Linked DNA regions of Homo sapiens: regions 1, 2 and 3 are each linked to region 4. The links are contacts of gene promoters, found by promoter capture Hi-C in blood cells and fetal thymus (Javierre and others, 2016). All regions are on one chromosome and are shown on one strand. Each heading gives the region's core, a stretch centred on a gene start or on the middle of the fragment in contact. The rest is flanking DNA. Distances are from core to core; before and after follow the strand shown. Region 1 holds the start of ANKRD17 (ankyrin repeat domain 17). Region 2 holds the start of RCHY1 (ring finger and CHY zinc finger domain containing 1). Region 3 holds the start of YTHDC1 (YTH N6-methyladenosine RNA binding protein C1). Region 4 holds the start of POLR2B (RNA polymerase II subunit B).

Region 1 (4,316 bases), core at 1,645-4,144, about 16 Mb after region 4:
TTAGTAGAGATGGGGTTTCACCATGTTGGCCAGGCTGGTCTCAAACTCCTGACCTCAGGTGATCCGCCCGCCTCGGTCTCCCAAAGTGCTGGGATTACAGGCGTGAGCTACCACGCCCGGCCAATGGGCACACTTTCTTACACGTATTTCTCCTGACTCATCTTCATAAATGACAAACCCATTGTTTAACACCATGTAAAAGACAGGATAAGGTATGTTAAAAACATAGAAATACTACCATAGTTGGTGAAAGTCAACATAACCATTCCTATATTACAAAAGGAAAACAAACCTGACCCACAAAATAAACATACCTACAAACTTACAGCCATTCTTCATGATTTAAGGAATTACTAAAAGTTCTGCTTATTAGGCCGCATTCCAATGGACAAAACTACCTAGGTATGTTAAGTTTGCAGCAGAATATCCCAGTAAGTACTGCATTCAACTATCATAACCTTGCTCTAAACCAGAGCTTAATAGTTTCACGAGAATTTAAAATTTTAAGTAATGGTATTTTGCCTATAGCTGCATGATTGTGTTACCTTGCTATTCAGTAACTATTTTTCTGAATGATATCAGGAGGGTGATAAAAGGAAATAAATTATTATTAAAAAGTGTACAGGTCTGAGACATTAGAAAACTTTGATTTGTACTTTTGCTACTACCCACCACAACCACTTTCCTCTAAACCTTGTTTTCCTCCTTTTTAAAATAAAGGGCTGAATTACCTGTAAAATGTTTCTCACCTTTGAGAAGAATCATACAATTGAATGATTCTAAGTACCATAACAAATTTTATTAGGGATAAGGACCCCATTACATCTTTCTCTTCCTTGTTTCAAATGCCGCCAGAGCAACACACTATCCTAAACATCCAAGTAGGCCAATATAAGTCTATCAATACAAACCTATTCTCAGAATCCAACAGGCTAAAAGGGAATAAAAACAAGGACTGGCATATTTTTGTCATACATACTTCAGCACTTAATATCTCTACCTATACAACTTCATCCAGTCTGAGATAAAAGAGAATCTGGTCTTCTACAAATAGACATGTGTCAAATCCTTTAAAAGGTACTTCTCTATTTCAACAGAGACCAGGATTCAATAATTCCAATTTTCGGAAAACCAGACTTGCATCAAAATAAGTTCCATGTTTGTGGAAGAGAATAAATAGTAAGTGGTACTTTTAGATGAATCACTTGGTCTCCTCTTAGAACTAAGTTTAAAATCAGCCTTTAAAGCTGTTTTCCCTCTGCTGATAAAGATTTCCCTCTCCAAATAAAGATTTTTCTAGATTCTATTTCAGGAAGGAGACAAGAGAGTGGTAAAACAGCTAATAACTAGTAAAGCTAACTCTCAGTTGGTTGTCAGTATGGTATGTTTTACTGAGCCTTTGGGTTGTAAGGGCTTCTGTGAGGAATAAGGTCCTGCAACGCCGCCTGTCTGTGGACCCAGGAAAAATTATAAAGTTATTATGAAACCAGATCACTAGGACAAACCGAGAGGCCTTCCTATTCCAACTCACCACAACCAGGCCTGGCTCCAAAGCCTACCCTTTGGCTGTCCCATATTACGGGACAACAGGTCCTAGCTTAATTCTAACTCACTAAGGAAACATTCGAAGGCATGTATGTATGTACGTGTAAGGATCAAATATATTTTTCATCCACTTACAAATGTATATGGTCATTTGTAATTATTTAAAGTTACTGATAAATTTATACAAATACAGCATCAGTTCATCGAAAATCCCTGGGAGATCGAGGAAATGAAGTTACTTCAGCAGCCAGGATAGTTACGAAAAACCCTGCAGAACAGTATGGAAAAGTACAGCTTCTCACGTGTCCCTCACATACACAAACACTTAGCTCTGAGTCCATTACAACCTTACGTCCCCCCTCAAACTGCTCCCCTCCACCTCACAACTGGGAGAAGTTGATCAACCTCCTAGTTGGTCCCCAAGAGACTCATTTACCCATTATTTTACTCCTCCCGCTTTGATCCCGATCCCGCCTCAGACTAAGGTGGCCCTACTGGCCCCAGGCAGACCACCCCCCCACCCCCCGGCGTGCAAACAGGGAATCTAACCAATTCCCTCCATCCTTAACCAAGTGAGCCATCCCATGATAACAGGCTGTTCACCAACTCTGTGAACTCCGTGGTCCTCCCACCCCCACGTGTCAGCTACCCTCCCCCACATTCCCACACCTCACGATTTAGGCCGAGGGAAGAAAGGGGGCAGTCGAAAGCCTGGCCCCTAAGAGATCAACCCACTGGAATCTGTCCCACTCCAAATCCCCTCCCACCTTCGGCCCCTATCCCTTACAGTCCCTTCCTCCCTCCTTCCTTTGAAACCAGGCCCTTGCCTCAGAAACCTCCTCTTCCTCGTCGTCGTCGTCCTCTTCTTCCTCGCTGTTGTTACTGCTGGTGCCGCCGCCGCCACCTCCGCCTCCACCGCCGCCTCCACCGCCGCCGCTGTTGTCGCTGTCGCTGCTGCTTTCGCTGCTGCTGGGGGGTCGGCAAGTCCGGTTACGCTTGGCCTTGTGGTGCTGCTGCTGCGGCGGCTTCTTCTTCAGGAGCAGGTCGCAGACTCGCACCATCCCACGAGGAGACGAGGCCGAGCGAGCTCTGCTGCTGCCGCCAACGCCGCCGCCGACCTCCGCCGCCGCGGGGGGGCCCGCCACAGCCGCCACCGCCGGGGGGCTCCCTTCTCCTTCTGCAGCCGTCGCCGCCGCCACCGGAACCGTCGCCTTCTCCATCCCCAGGGAAAGAGGGAGGGCGCGGACGGGGGAGGGGCGTGGGGCTACGCTCTACCGCGACTTCGGCCGCACTGGGGCCGACACAGCAATCGGTGCCGCCTCCGCCGCCACCGCCTCGGTCACCTCTACTGCCGCCGCCGCCGCCGCCGCTCCGCCAGCTCTCACCTCGTCTCGCGATACTAAGGGCGGGGAGCCTGACGATGGGAGGGAGGGAGGGAGGGAGAGGGAGGGAGCAAGGGAAGGAGGGTGAGGCGTAACAGGGAGACCGGGTGTCGGGAGAACCAGAGGAGAGGAGACTGGAAAGAAGCGGGGAAGTGTGCCTGGGGCAGCTTCCGAAGGGGAACGGCGGGGACAGATGAGGGGGGCGCGATTGCAACCAGAGCGCCCGCGAGCTCCCGGATTTCTTCTCTTTCCTCGCTATTTCCCGCACACACAGCCCTGCAGCCCTCCCTTCTTCCTTCCTGGCTTGTGATTAGAACGCAGCCGCAGGCGGAAGTGCAGTGACGCCATCAGCCGTCGCCTGAGCCGTGGCGCGCGGGTGGCCGAAAGGCGAAAGTGAGATTTCAAGGGCCGGGTCTGGGGCCCCGCGGGCGCGCAGTGCTGCGGCGTGTGGGGAGTACGGGGAGGCTGGAGAGGAGCCGGCCCCGGGCAGTGTGAGGTGCGGAAGCGCGGTCCAGACACTTTGCTGACGGGAGGCCGGTCCGCCAGATCCGGGAGGTGGGGCCTCGTTCTGGACTGCTGTACGTAGTTTTATTCCTGGTCATTTTTTTCCACCGCCAAATCGAGAGATAGAGCTTTGGATCATGAGAGATGGCGTCGTGTTGGGAAAAGAGCCTTCTTTACCTGAGTTTAAGCTCGGCTCATAGACATCCTCTACCTGAGTTTACACGTGTGTAATATGAAGGCAGTCGATTAGGAGATGTCTAAGATCATTACTTACACCTCAAGTTTCCAAGGGGAGGAAGACACGGGAAGGATGCGTGGTCTGTGCCAGACTTTGTAGACGATTCACTGAATGACCCTGATTTAGCTCTTCCGGCCCTCTTCGATTCAGCTTGGAAGCAAGCATAAATAGTGATTGTTGTCTGTATACTTCTCTCGGAAGGAATGCTGTTATGGGAGTTGTGGGTTCATTTTTAGGTGTCTGAAGAAGTTTCAGGACTTTTGAAATGATAGTGGAGCCCATTGAACTCAGAATTATCCCTTTCTGGTCTAGTAGGAGTATAGTGGCATACGGAAAATGAAGCAAACATCAAAGACAGATGTACTGGCACAAGATTAAAAGTATGTCTCAGCTGACATAGTTGCCATTTTAAGACTGCTTAGTTTAGCTGAATATGCCTGGATTTTTTTTTTTTTTAGCATTTTTTTTCTTTTTAGCATTGGCATACCATATGAAATGTGGGCAGTTGCCAGTACTCTACAGAGTACCAAGGCAGAATTGGCAATGACTAAATCAATTCATTCAAACAAAAATTCATCATGTGCCTACTGTGCGCATAATTTGTGGAATCAAAGTCTCTTGTTTCCAGGGGCTTTACAGTGTAATAA
Region 2 (4,212 bases), core at 1,370-3,869, about 19 Mb after region 4:
CACCATCAATGCGTGTGTCAACAGACTGAAAAAAAAAAAAAACAAATATCTTAGTGTTCATAGAAAGTAGTTTTGGCCTTGCAGAGCCCCTGAAAGGACTTCAGGAATCCCCAGGGTTCCATTCACCACACTTTGAAAACCAATGCTACAGAACAACGGCACCCTCTTTGCATCTCAATTCCAAGCATGAAATTCTCTAACCATTACCTCCTCCCTAACTTACTCCAAGTCTCCCCTTGCAACACCCTAGTTCCCTTCTCAGTTCCTCTACACTCATAGATAACAATCCCAACCCTAGTTAAATCCTATTTGACTTCTATCAGAAGCAGGTGAATATGGCTAGAGAAAAAGCATCACCGTCCTTGCTGGTTCATATGAGGTGGACACTTACTACCACGTTTCCCTGGTCAATTCTCTCATTCTTCCAGAGTCTAAGACCTAAGATTTAGATGATCATTTCACTTCTTCTCCTCTGGCTTTAAAACTCTAACAACTCTTCCTCCTTAACACTCTGCTGATGACCTTATTTCACTATAAAAACAGTAAACATACTTCCTGCTGACAGGCCTGAAAAGAACATCCTCCTATTATCTCTATTAACTTACTTGCAAATATACCTCATTCTCTGCCTTCCCTTAGGAAGAACTGACAGTCTATGTTTCTAAGGCCAACTCCTTCACTTGTGCACTGGATTTCATCCCCTTTGGCTACTCAGGGACAATGCCCTTACAGTTTTCTCACTCTCTCCTGCATTATAAAACGTTCTCACTCTATTGTATCATTTCCTAGAATATACAAACATGCTGTAATACTTCCTCTCTTAAAGAGGAAAAAATATGGTGCCAGATCTCCCAGCAACCACATCTTTTTTTTGCTCCCCTTTACAGCTAAACCCCAAGAATACCCTATAAGTGCTATTTTCAATTCCACTCCTCCCATTCTTTCCTAAATTCACTCTAATCCTGATCTCTCCACTAAAACTCCTCTTGTCAAGATCACCAGTGACCTCTTCCTTGCCAAATCCAAAGGGCAATTCTCAGTTATCTTACTCAAACAGCTGCATTTGACCCAGCTGACCACATCCTCCTTGAAATACTTCACTTGGCCTCTGGTATTTAAGGGGGGGGGGGGGGCGGGGGAAGGCAAAAACTGTTTGACACCTAGGGCGAAGTATCTTAGTGCTATGATACACAGATCTAATTGTGTGGTTTATGGGGGGCACCAAGATGTTAAATTCCGTTTTAGACCTCAAGTTTGAAAGAATAATAATACATCTCAGTAGAAATTGAATCATAAGGATAGCATTCAATTTCCTTACACAACACTTGGTGGATGACCAACATTTTTAAGGAGCTTCATCCAGTTCAGTGGAGCAATGTTCGTCAAGCCATGACCTATAGAAAAGAGTTTAGGATGCACGTACAGGCCTGAGACTTGAACTTGCTTCTAATAATGAGGCAGTGACCAGCAAGGCTGACTTGTGAAGTGAAAGAACAAAAAATAATAATACTCAGATTGACGATGATAGTAACAGTCATGGTGGTATATATTTACTACTCATTTACTTCAGGGAATGCGCCCTGTTAAACACTATACACGCCCTTTAGTATATAATCCTCATACACTTTTATGAAACAGGCGCGATCATCTCCATTTTACATACGGGGTAGAGAGGAGCTAGCTAAAATCAGTTATTAAAGAGGAGAGCTAAGATTTGGGGATAGGGCGGTTGAGGTTCCAAAGCTCAAGTTTTCTAAGCAAAATTTTTGTACTGTTTCTTGCAAGGAAAATCAGGAAACTTCAATTGAATACGTGCCAATTTAAAAAAAAATACAGATTAAGAAGTTTTCTCAGAGTAACAATACATGCTTATTAGGCACTTTCCTATGCATAATTTCCTATTTAATGGCAATTACATGATTGTCTTCTTTTTTGGGACACACGTTTTCTCCTACGTCTGAACATGTGCACTGCCTTTAACATGAAGCTGGCAGGCTATAAAACTTTACCACAGGAGCTGAAATCGTATTCGGGTTCTCCACTTGCTTATTTCCATTATCTCCACTTCCATTATTTCATCACACACCTGAACGGAAAACCCCAGTACAGGCCCGGGGCTGCCTCAGTCTACTTCGGCAGCAAAAGACGAATAAGCCCACTGGCAGAGACCACTGTGCAAGCCTAATCACTTCCCAAGAAGGGTTTTGCTTTAAAGGTACGAAGCAGGTAGGAAAGGTGGGGCTTATCGCCTTGCCAAAAACGTTCTCCTCAAGAAGAACCCAGTTCCAGGTGGAAAAGGTATCCTGAAAATCAGGTTAACCTCAAACTTAAATCCAAGCCTAACCACCTGCCCAGCCCGCCCCAGCCCAACCTGACGGAAGCTTGTCAGGGAAGAGTCCATAGAAGGCGTCACCTTTAGGAGACATCCTCTGTCATAGTGCTCGCAGCCCCGCTGACCTCGCTCTTGACCGCTGGCGCCATCTTCCCGGGCCGTCGCCGCCATCTCCTCCACCTCCCCTCACATTCCACCGATCCTTCCCCCAGGATAAAAACCACGCCCAGAGAAGCTGCGCCTCTCTAGCACACCCCTCCCAGCCCCAGCGGCCACTAGCGACAATATGGCTCCTAAGCACGTGACCCGGGGCAGACGGATTTCCGGTTCCCGGGGCTACGAGGCGGAAGCGAAGGCAGACGCAGTCTCCGTCGTTGACGTTAGTCGCAGTCTTCGCTGCTAACGGTAATAACTCTTAGGTTGCCTGTTTTCCCCCAATCGCTACCCGCCCAAATCTCAGGGCGTAGTTCGGCGCGAGGTTGGCGGCAGCGGCGCGGAGACGCTGGTTGGCCCCAGAGGAAAGGACGCTCACTGGGCGCATCGTTACCTGTGACGGGTCCTCCCTCTCTCCCTCCGGTGGCGGGGAGCCTGGAGAAAGGGGCGGAGCTCGGCCCGGGCCCTGGGCTCAGCGGGTCCCGCGCGCTGCTCTTGGACGCCAGGGTGCTCGCTGGCACCTCGAAGTGCTTCTTGCTTCCTCCCTTTCCCGTTTACTTGCTGTTCTTTCAAAATATGTACTGACATTCACTATTGCCAGTCACCAGCTAAACCGTGAGGACAAAAAGTAAGGAAAAATAGACACACTCCACCATGACCTCATGGAACTAACAAGACTGGTGGAGGAGGAAGACATTAATAAGAGCAATCACTGCAATAAATGTAAGATTACAACCTGGAGAAGTGCTAGGAAGAAGTGTGTGTCCTGTGAGAGCTAATATTAGAGCAGCTCTGACAATCTGAGTGTCAGTGAGGGAAGGCTTCCCTGGGGAAGCGATGCAAGCCGAGGGCTGAAAGATGGGTAGGAGTTAGTGTGCAAAAGGCTTTGTGGCACAAAGAACATGGTACCTGTTAGAAGGTGGAAGGAAAATGTACAAGCCAACAAAATTGAAATCATACTCGGGGTACACAGCTAAATATGTTTCTCCTTATTAAAGAGTCAAGGCCCTGGAAAATGATGTAAGCAAAGCTGCAGGTGTTAGAAGAAGATATTTGTCTTTAGCTTTCTATCCTGATTTTGTGTTTCCTAAAACACCGGGAAAGGGAAAATATTCCCCTTCAGCTTTCCGGTTACTAACTCTTAACATTCTAATTTTCTTTCAGTTTTGTTATGAGTTGCTAAAATGGTGAAATGCTGCTCCGCCATTGGATGTGCTTCTCGCTGCTTGCCAAATTCGAAGTTAAAAGGACTGACATTTCACGTGTAAGATTTTGCTGTAGTTAAGCCAAATACTTTGGCCATGTTATAAAAAGCAAAAGACAGTTCTACTTAAGTCTTCAATTTTGAACTTTAGTTCCCGAGTCCTTTTTAAATAACCTTTTTGTTAAATTTGAAGTGACAATGTGATACCTTTACATGTTTATAATTTAGTTTAAAAGTTTTAAGATATCAGAGACTTTAAGATATCAGAGACTGGTTTACAAAAAATACCATAAGGCTAACTTTTGCTAATATTATTACTTTGTATTTTATCACACCGCCAAAGAAATTCAATGTTGTTTACATGTAGTTTACAATCTGAATGAAGGAGCTTTGCTCGAATATATTGCCCTCTCTATTTAGAAGTAGATCAAGCATAGGTTATAGAGAAAAAATACAAATTACAAGTTAAGACCAAGGGATCTTTAGCTGTGTTGCAAATAAATCAAAATGATTTTAGTTTCAT
Region 3 (4,448 bases), core at 1,777-4,276, about 11 Mb after region 4:
TGGTAAATACTCAAGGTACTGAAACACAATTACTGTATACAAAGAACCCAGTGAACAAGACAGATGTACTCCGGGCACTCAGGGAGCTTCTAGTCTGGTAATCTAGAAAACACGTTATTTTTAACACAGTAACTCATTACACATTACTCATACACATTTTGGATAGATTAAACTTTTGTAACTGTTCTTTGTAGAGAACTTTGTAAAAGATTAATACAATTTATACAAGGTGTTTGCAATAATAGAAAAGATGCATATTTCCTCCTTATATAGAAAAATGGCATTTAATATTAGTTAACACCAACATTGCAACACCTTTCAAATCCAGTTTCTTGGGCAAATTATCACCACAGGAATCACAGGGAGCTAGCAATCTGTCCACTTATATGGGCTGCAGCTTCTAGGTATGAGTATTATTGAAGCATTGTTATAGATTATAGAAATTCATGTCTTTATTACCCAGATAAGTGCAAAACCCCATCAAGAACTCTATGAACAAGGGTCTTTACTGTTCTGTGATTAATATAATTGCCAATTTCTGCAACTTATAGACTCATTTGCTATCAAGATCTTAAACCATTTATGGAATCATTTGAGAAAGAACTTAACGTTTGTGACATGACTGAGATTTTTAGAGGGTTTATCCTTATAATTTCCTGTTTCATGTAAGACAATAAAGCGCTTAAGAGTCCCACTTTTCCTTAAGAGAGGAAGACCTAAGTATTGATTCTAACTATAAAGCTAAGTGTGTGATGATGATCATCAAGTAAATGATACAACCTGTAGGTTACCTAGAACTCTCCCAAAACGAAATAAACAATTCCAGTAGGTAAGTGCTAGTTCTCCGTGTAGTCCAGAAACAATCTTTGTTCTAAACTATAAAGATAAAGCACTTACATCAAGTTTTTAAATAAAGTTATGAAAATTAAATAAAAAAAACTAAGCAAATGTGAGGCAAAGAACCTTTTCAAAAGTGGGGAAATGTATCCTATGTATAGACAACAGGTGATATCACTACTTCCCAGTAATAGCTACACAGTTTATGTATTTGGACTGCATTATCATCACTAAATCATTTCTAAAGCAAAACTTTTAAAATCATCTACTTTTCTTCTTCAATGTGCATTACTGCGTCTACTCTATTAACGACTTGTAAATATTTTCATCTTAGACAACGAATTCTTGAGAAGTACTGAATTTTACTCATTTTTGTGTTTGGTTCATTTCGCCCACCACAACCACTACAGACTCCCATATCCACAGTTCATAAATTAGAAAGACAATCAGATGTTTGCTGAATACTTACTAATTAAGATCATGTATTTTAATAACTGAGTTAACTAATTAAAAGCATTTTCCTTTACTCACTAACACCATACAATCCTATGTTCCCATTACTTCTGGATTTCTCAAAAAAAAAAAAAAAAAAGGCCCAGGGAGATTTTTTAGCATTTAGTTTAAGGATGGAACATTAAACTGCTATAACCTAATCAAAGAACTACTTTAGGATAAGGGCAGTATCTTAAAAGTATTCCCACCCATTCCACTTTCCCAGCTTGTCCCTAACCTAGGGCAGTTCATTGAAGCATGAAGACTCTCCTGATGCAGAAACCAGAAAAATTAAGAAAAAAGGATTACACGCCTAATGTAACTTGACTCTAGAGCCCACTTAACAACCCCCGACAAAAAAACCCCAAATCAATTAGGCACACAGAAGAGATGTGTGAGACACAGAGCAGCGACCGTGTCATATTTTTAACTATAATCTTTCCAAGACTATTATGTTAATCTTAGGGTTGAAAAAGATCTTAAAGCAGCATTTAATCTAGACCACTCTCCAGAGAGACACTGATCTAGGACCTACATTAATATCTCTAGGGCTTGGGAACTTAGTATTACTATCTTTCCATTACAGCAACGTCAGTTCTCTCTACATTTCACTGAAATTTATCCCTCCAACTCTCTGTAACTTGCATTCATTTGTTTCTGACTGTACCCTCTGGGAGCTACACACGGTTTTTCTAACATAATAGCACCCAGGATTTCTTTGCCAGCCTAAGTCACACAGTCATCTTTCCAAACTAAGTATTCCTTTTTCCAAGTACTATGTTTTTCCAAAATAAGTATTCGAGGAACAAAACGGGTAATTCACTTTGCCTATTTAACAGGAACAGCCAGAAGTTATTTGCAGATATTTCTCAAGATTAATAACCTGCCAGTGCCACTTCCTAAACTTGCTCACTTACCACACCACCAGTGTTGATCGCGGCATTAGGGGTTTTCAAATTTTAGCCTAACAGAAATGGTTGTCCTGAAAATACGCGTTACATCCGCATGATCCTACCAGGAAATAAACCTAGGAGCTTGCAACTCAGAAAGGGCCCCTCTCAGCCCAAGACAGCTAAACGGAAAGTCAAGCGTGAAATCCGCATCAAAGAAAAACCCTACTGAGATGAAGTGCTAGGCCATATGGAGACTGAGGACGAAAGGGCAGGCCTGGTCTCCGCCAGAGTCTAAGTGTCTCGGTGGGGGCCACCGGCTCCTCGCGAGGCCAGCTAACCTCCCCAACCCCCACCCCCCACCCCCAACGACGACCACTGCTCCATCACCCCACTCCCGGGCCCCAGCCTCGCCTCGGCCCGTCATCTTTCTCCGCACTAACCTTTCTCCTCCCGACTGTCAGCCGCCATGGCTCCCCTTCGGTTTCCGCCGCTGCCACCGCCGCCGCCGCTTAGACGCGACTCGCGCGGGCGCCGCAGCCGCGGCAGAAGCACGGGCCCGTCCGTCAGTCCGTCTGCCCGGATACGCGCGTCGCACTTGGCCTCTTAACACTCAGCCTTCTCGACTCTTCCCGCTTTTTCCCTTTCTCCCTTCCTTTCACTCCAGCATCCAGCGGCCTAGGCCCAGCCTTCTCGTTAGGGCTCAGACTCGGGCTAGGTATGGGGGAGGGAAGGGAAACAGATGGCGACGGCGGGCGGCGCTAAAATGGAGCCTGCTTCCTGCGCGAAACAATCCCGCTCCCGAAATGCCCTGCGCTGTTTACGCTTCGTTCCTCTCTGGGAACGTCACAGTGCGGAGAGGGGCGGGGAGGCGGGGACGTGCAAAGGAACGTGACGTGACGTCAGCGCGTCGCCCTGCCGCCCTCAGCCCACTGGTACCTGGAAGGAGTCTTATTCAGGGATTAGGTTACCCAGGTTGTTCATGGAGTTCCCGCTGTACGGCCTATAACTGGATGGCGCAATTTTCCCACCTGAAACTCTTAGTGCAGGGCCTAACAGGCCTTCTTAGCTAGAGTCGCTCTAAAGGACTCCTGATTCAGTTCGGGTAATCGGAGTCTTATTTAGGACAAGTCTGGGTGAATCCCTTATGTTTACCAGATGTACTTTCTTAGTTGGAGTTCCACTCTTACCCAAAGGCAGTGCAGCATGCAACCAGCTTGTTTGTAGTCACAAAAGCCTGCTAGTTTTTGTTTGTTTTGAGACGGAGTCTCGCTCTGTCGCTAGGTTGGAGTGCAGCAGCGCGATCTCGGCTCACCGCAACCTCCGCCTCCCAGGTTCAAGCGATTCTCCTGGCTCTGCCTCCTGAGTAGCTGGGACTACAGGCGCCCGCCACCACGCCCAGTTAATTTTTTTATTTTTAGTAGAGACGGGATTTCACCATGTTGGCCAGGATGAAGTGCTGGGATTACAGGCGTGAGCTACCACGCCCGGCCTAGTTTTGTTTTTAATTGGGGAAAGAATTGTATCATAATAGGTCTTTGTAATTAATAACTAATTTAAACATGTTATCAAGGCCCTGGGGCACAAAATTGATTTAAGCAGACCATCGAGGAATCGAAACTACAGAATAAATGACCAGTAGATACATAACTACATAGTGTGGTAAAATCTGCAAGAGAAACTTGCTTAAGATTCATTGTCCAACGGAAACAATCTAATTTTGCTTCCTTGAACTATAACTGAGTTATAAGGGAAAGAAAAATCTGAAAAAGGTAACTAAGTAACTTCGTGATATGAAGACAAACTGGCAAACTAACTGCATATTCAGGGAAAGACAAGTAGTCTAGAAGTCTAGAATGTGGTACCTCTTTTTTTTTGAGACGTGGTCTCACTGTGACACAGGCTGGAGTGCAGTGGTGTGATCATGGCTCACTGCAACCTTGGGCTCAAGTGATCCTCCCACCTTAACCTCCCAGGTAGCTGGAACTACAGGCATGCTCCACCACATCCGACACATTTTTTGCATTTTTTGTGGAGATATACCATCTCCGCAAGATGGCTAACACCTAGCCATCTTGCCCAGGCTAGTGTCTAAATCCTGGGCTCCAGCAATCCTCCCACCTCGGCCTCCCAAAGTGCGGGATTACAGGTGTGAAGCCACCAGGAGTGGCCCCATTTCTAGGACCTTAATTGAACACTAATTTGAATATACGAACACGCACACGCCAC
Region 4 (4,057 bases), core at 384-2,883:
CGCTGCTGCCTCTGTCGCTCCTCCTCCTCCTGCTGTTGCTGGAGCTCCTGCAGCTGCTTTTCGCGGGTGGGTTGCGGCTCCGGATCCAGGATGTACTCCGGGAACAGAAAACGCTCCTGCATGTCACCACCTTCTCCAAAGCCCTCCGTGTCCACGGGGTCATAAGGAAGCTCGCGTCCCAGACTCGATGAGTGCTGGAAGGAGGAGGCGGCAGCGCACCTCCTCTCCAGGAGCGGCTCCCGGAGGCCATGGCGCGCTGCCGTGGGAGCGGATCCACGAAGGAAAAGGCTCAGCAGCCTGAACGGTAGGCGAGCGGGCAGCATGAGGAAGTAGCTCCAAAGGGGCGGAGCCACCAGCGCGCACGCGCACTAGGGTCCGAGGCGCGCATTTGACCCGAGACGAAAGCGCGTGGGTACTTGGGAGCTGTCCTGGTTGGTTTTGCGTCTAATCCCGTCAGTTCTCGCGATTTAAGCTCTGAGACTGAGAACCTACTTAAAGCTATGGCAAAGGCACTGGAGGATTGAGCTAGGTGGGCAGAAAAGAGCAGTGAGTGTTTTGGGTTTTTTCACTTTCAGGCTTAACGCCTCACTGCTAGCACAAGCCGCCCTTAATAAATCACACTTAAAAAGGAGCTTCCGGGGTCGGGCGCGGTGGCTCACGCCTGTAATCCCAGCAATTTGGGAGGCCGAGGCGGGCGGATCATGAGGTCAGGAGATCGAGACCATCCTGGCTTACACGGTGAAACCCCCATCTCTGCTAAAAATACAAAAAATTAGCCAGGCGTGGTGGCGGGCGCCTGTAGTCCCAGCTACTCGGGAGGCTGAGGCAGGAGAATGGCTTGAACGCGGGAGGCGGAGGTTGCAGTGAGCCGAGATCGCGCCACTGCACTCCAGCCTGGGCGACAGAGCGAGCCTGTCTCAAAAAAACAAAACAAAACAAAAACAGAAAGGAGCTTCCGGCCGGGCGCGTGGCTCACGCCTGTAATCCCAGCACTTTGGGAGGCCGAGGCGGGTGGATCACCTGAGGTCAGCAGTTCGAGACCAGCCTGGCCAACGTGGTGAAACCCCGTCTCTACTAAAAATACAAAAATTACCCGGGCGTGGTGACCCTTGCCTGTAATCCCAGCTATTTGGGAGGCCGAGGCAGGAGAATCGCTTGAACCCGGGAGACGGAGGTTGCAGTGAGCCGAGATCGCTCCACTGCACTCCAGCCTGGGCGACAGAGCGAGACTCCATTTCAAAAAATAATAAATAAATAAAAATAAAAAATAGCTTCGTGTTTTGGTCCTTATAAAGGCAAATAAATTGAGCATCCCAATGTTGCGGATTCACAGGACGAACACTTTTTAATAATAAGTATACCTGGTTTTGTTTTCAGGTGTCGTTATTTGTGCAACAACATTGAAAAACAAGCAGAAATAAAACATTGACGGAACGGATACGACCGCAGATTGCGGGAGCTGTCCTCTCAATCAGCCCGGCAGCGGCGGCCCACAATTTACGCGTGTGCAACCCTAACCCCGGCCCAAGCTTGACCTACAATTTGCGCAGGCGCAGATCCTAACTTTGGCGTCCCTGTGGGCGGCCTTTGGTGTGAGACGCGTGGTATTCTGGGAACGTCGGAGACGGAAGTTACTTCGTCTTTAGCTCCTGGCGCTGCTGGCTTCTGGGCGGTTTTTGTCTTTTGATTTCAAGAGTTAGGAGCTCGAGAACCGTTTGGCAATATGTACGACGCGGATGAGGGTAGGTGAACGCTCAAAACACACGCCGTGGCGGTCCATTTAAGCAGGAAAGCGTTGGGAACTGATTGGATTGAGGATTTGGGGCCTTCCCATGCGCCGGCTGCACAGTCCCCAGCCTTGTTCCCACACTTACCAGGCCGGGAACGAAACTGGGGTAGGGAGAGGCGGAGGGTGCAGGGAACATAGTGTTAATGTTCCAGGTTACGTTCACTGCTGCTCTCTGCACTTTCTCGTTCCGTTAGATCTGATCCTCGTTTCCTGTGGTGAAGTAGCGTGCAGAATCGTAAGATAAATTACGTTTTGAATTTGAAGCAAAGGGCACCCTTTAAAAATTTTCCTTAAAGCCACAGTCGACTTAACGAATAGCTCAATTGTTGAGTGTCAGCCTGTGTCAGGCAGTGTGGAAGGTCCTGGAAATATTCCGGGACAGAGAATATCGGGGGGTGGGGGTGGCGGGGGGGACTCGGTTTAGTCTGACATTTCTTCATACTGTTTGTAAGTCAAAGTAAATTGTCTTAAAGGATGACTTTTAACTTCCTCTTCTCACAATGTCACAGTTCTCAGATGATATGTATTCTGCTGCACTGGGCCAATGTATAATACCTGTTTGTTTGCGCATATGGAATTCTTAGTAGTGGCCGAGCGCGGTGGCTCCCGTCAGCACTTTGGGAGGCCGAGATGTGCAGATCGCTTGAGACCAACCTGACAAACATGGGGAAATCCTGTATCTACTAAAAATACAAAAATTAGCCTAGTGTGATGGCGTGCGCCTGTAATCCCAGCTACTCGGGAGGCTGAGGCCGGACGATCGCTTGAGCCCAGGAGGCGGAGTTTGCAGTGAGCTGAGATCGCACCACTACACCACAGCCTGAGTGACAGAGTTAGACTGTCTCAAAAAAAAAAAAAAAAAATTCTTAGTTGAGTCTAGTGTATTTTCGTAGCCGCCTTTTCCATTCTCCATATCTGCTAATTCAAACCTTATTTTCTTATAGCTCTCAATTCCTTGGCCACCCCCTACATCTCCTCTCTCTATTCCCTCAGGTACTTCTGATAAATCAGATGGAAAAAATTGAAGCAAAAGCTTAATTTTTTTTTTTTTTTTTTAAGAGATGGGGTCTGGCCATGTTGCCCAGGCTGGTCTCAAACTCCTGAGGTCAAACCATCTGCCTGTCTCGGCCTCCCAAAGTGCTGGGATTACAAGCATGAGCCAATGTGCCCAGCCAAAAGCTTAAACTTTTAAAGCTGTTTAAACTTCTGTCTCATTTATATCTTGTGTTGTAGAAATTTATTAGCATCATTATATTCCTTGTTCTTTTTTAACTACTATCTCAGTAGAAGAAAAATTCGAAAAAAAAGATTTTTAAAGCATAATTTTTGGCTGGGTAATATATTCTCATAGCTCACAAGCCAGAAAATTTAAAAATGTTAAAGTGGGGTGGCTGGTGCAGTGGCTCACGCCTGTTATCCCAGCATTTTGGGAGTCTGAGGCGGGTGGATTACTTGAGCTCAGGAGTTCGAGAGCAGCCTGGGCAACATGGGAGACCCCTCTCTATAAGAAATAGAAAAATTAGCTGGGCGTGGTCTTGCTCACCTATAGTCCCAGCTACTTGTGGGGCTGAGGCTGGAGGATCGCTTGAGCCTGGGAAGTTGACACTGCTATGAGCTGAGAACAAAGTGAGACCTTGTCTCAAAAAAAACAAGTTAAAGTGTCACGTCTCCTTCTTACCCACCATCTGCCCAGTTTGAACTCTCCACAGTGGGTAACTACAGTTATAACAGTTATAAGAGGTTCTTATCACTCCACAGTTTCTTTTTTTTTTTTTGATGGTCTTGCTCTGTTGCCCAGGCTTGAGTGTGGTGGCGCAATCTCGGCTCACTGTAACCTCCATCTCCCAGGTTCAAGCAGTTCTCCTGCCTCAGCCTCCCGAGTAGCTGAGATTACAGGCGTACACCACCGTGCCCAGCTAATTTTAGTATTTTTAGTAGAGATGGTTTCTCCACGTTGGCCAGGCTGATCTCAAACTCCTGACCTCAGGTGATTCACCTGCCTCGGCCTCCGAAAGTGCTGGGATTGCAGGTGTGAACCTCCAAGCCCAGCCTCCACAGTTTCCTTATGCATATTTAAGCAAATATAAATGGGATTTTCTCTTTTTTTAAAGACAGTAATATTCACACTTTTCTCCACTTTTAGATTTTGTTTAATGTGTCCAGGAGATTTTCGTATCAGTACACAGAAAGCATCGCGCCCCCCCTCCCGTGTCCCCACCCCCAGTTACTTAGTTTGTGTGGATGTACCATAACTTAAGTAGTCTCTTG

What was found. Contacts are between HindIII fragments. The CHiCAGO score rates a contact against its expected background, and 5 or more counts as called.
Region 1: a contact is called between the fragment with the promoter of ANKRD17 here and the fragment with the promoter of POLR2B in region 4, in 1 of 17 cell types (total B cells). The highest score is 6.2, in total B cells.
Region 2: a contact is called between the fragment with the promoter of RCHY1 here and the fragment with the promoter of POLR2B in region 4, in 1 of 17 cell types (fetal thymus). The highest score is 13.5, in fetal thymus.
Region 3: the fragment with the promoter of YTHDC1 here is called in contact with the fragment with the promoter of POLR2B in region 4 in 1 of 17 cell types (fetal thymus); the score reaches 5.6 in fetal thymus.

Annotation. Positions count from the first base shown.
Region 1 is chr4:73,255,904-73,260,219 of GRCh38, forward strand. ANKRD17 (ankyrin repeat domain 17) reads right to left here and starts at 2,895. Exons shown (of 34, transcript NM_032217.5): 1 at 2,373-2,895. The coding sequence starts at 2,765. ANKRD17-DT (ANKRD17 divergent transcript) reads left to right here and starts at 3,263. Exons shown (of 5, transcript NR_187399.1): 1 at 3,263-3,505. RefSeq lists enhancers at 47-547, 2,948-3,544, 3,147-3,416 and a silencer at 2,587-2,986. The HindIII fragment of the contact is 8,436 bases long and covers 1-4,316 here.
Region 2 is chr4:75,511,784-75,515,995 of GRCh38, forward strand. It overlaps RCHY1 (ring finger and CHY zinc finger domain containing 1), which reads right to left and starts at 2,620. Exons shown (of 9, transcript NM_015436.4): 1 at 2,414-2,620. The coding sequence starts at 2,503. It overlaps THAP6 (THAP domain containing 6), which reads left to right and starts at 2,690. Exons shown (of 5, transcript NM_144721.6): 1 at 2,690-2,737; 2 at 3,650-3,749. The coding sequence starts at 3,670. RefSeq lists enhancers at 1,729-2,659, 2,346-2,825, 2,660-3,590, 3,166-3,385. The HindIII fragment of the contact is 8,040 bases long and covers 2,380-4,212 here.
Region 3 is chr4:68,347,064-68,351,511 of GRCh38, forward strand. YTHDC1 (YTH N6-methyladenosine RNA binding protein C1) reads right to left here and starts at 3,027. Exons shown (of 17, transcript NM_001031732.4): 1 at 2,663-3,027. The coding sequence starts at 2,690. RefSeq lists an enhancer at 2,396-2,975. The HindIII fragment of the contact is 7,711 bases long and covers 1-4,448 here.
Region 4 is chr4:56,977,263-56,981,319 of GRCh38, forward strand. POLR2B (RNA polymerase II subunit B) reads left to right here and starts at 1,634. Exons shown (of 25, transcript NM_000938.3): 1 at 1,634-1,742. The coding sequence starts at 1,724. It overlaps NOA1 (nitric oxide associated 1), which reads right to left and starts at 344. Exons shown (of 7, transcript NM_032313.4): 1 at 1-344. The coding sequence starts at 323. RefSeq lists enhancers at 17-86, 1,908-2,007. The HindIII fragment of the contact is 1,293 bases long and covers 1,528-2,820 here.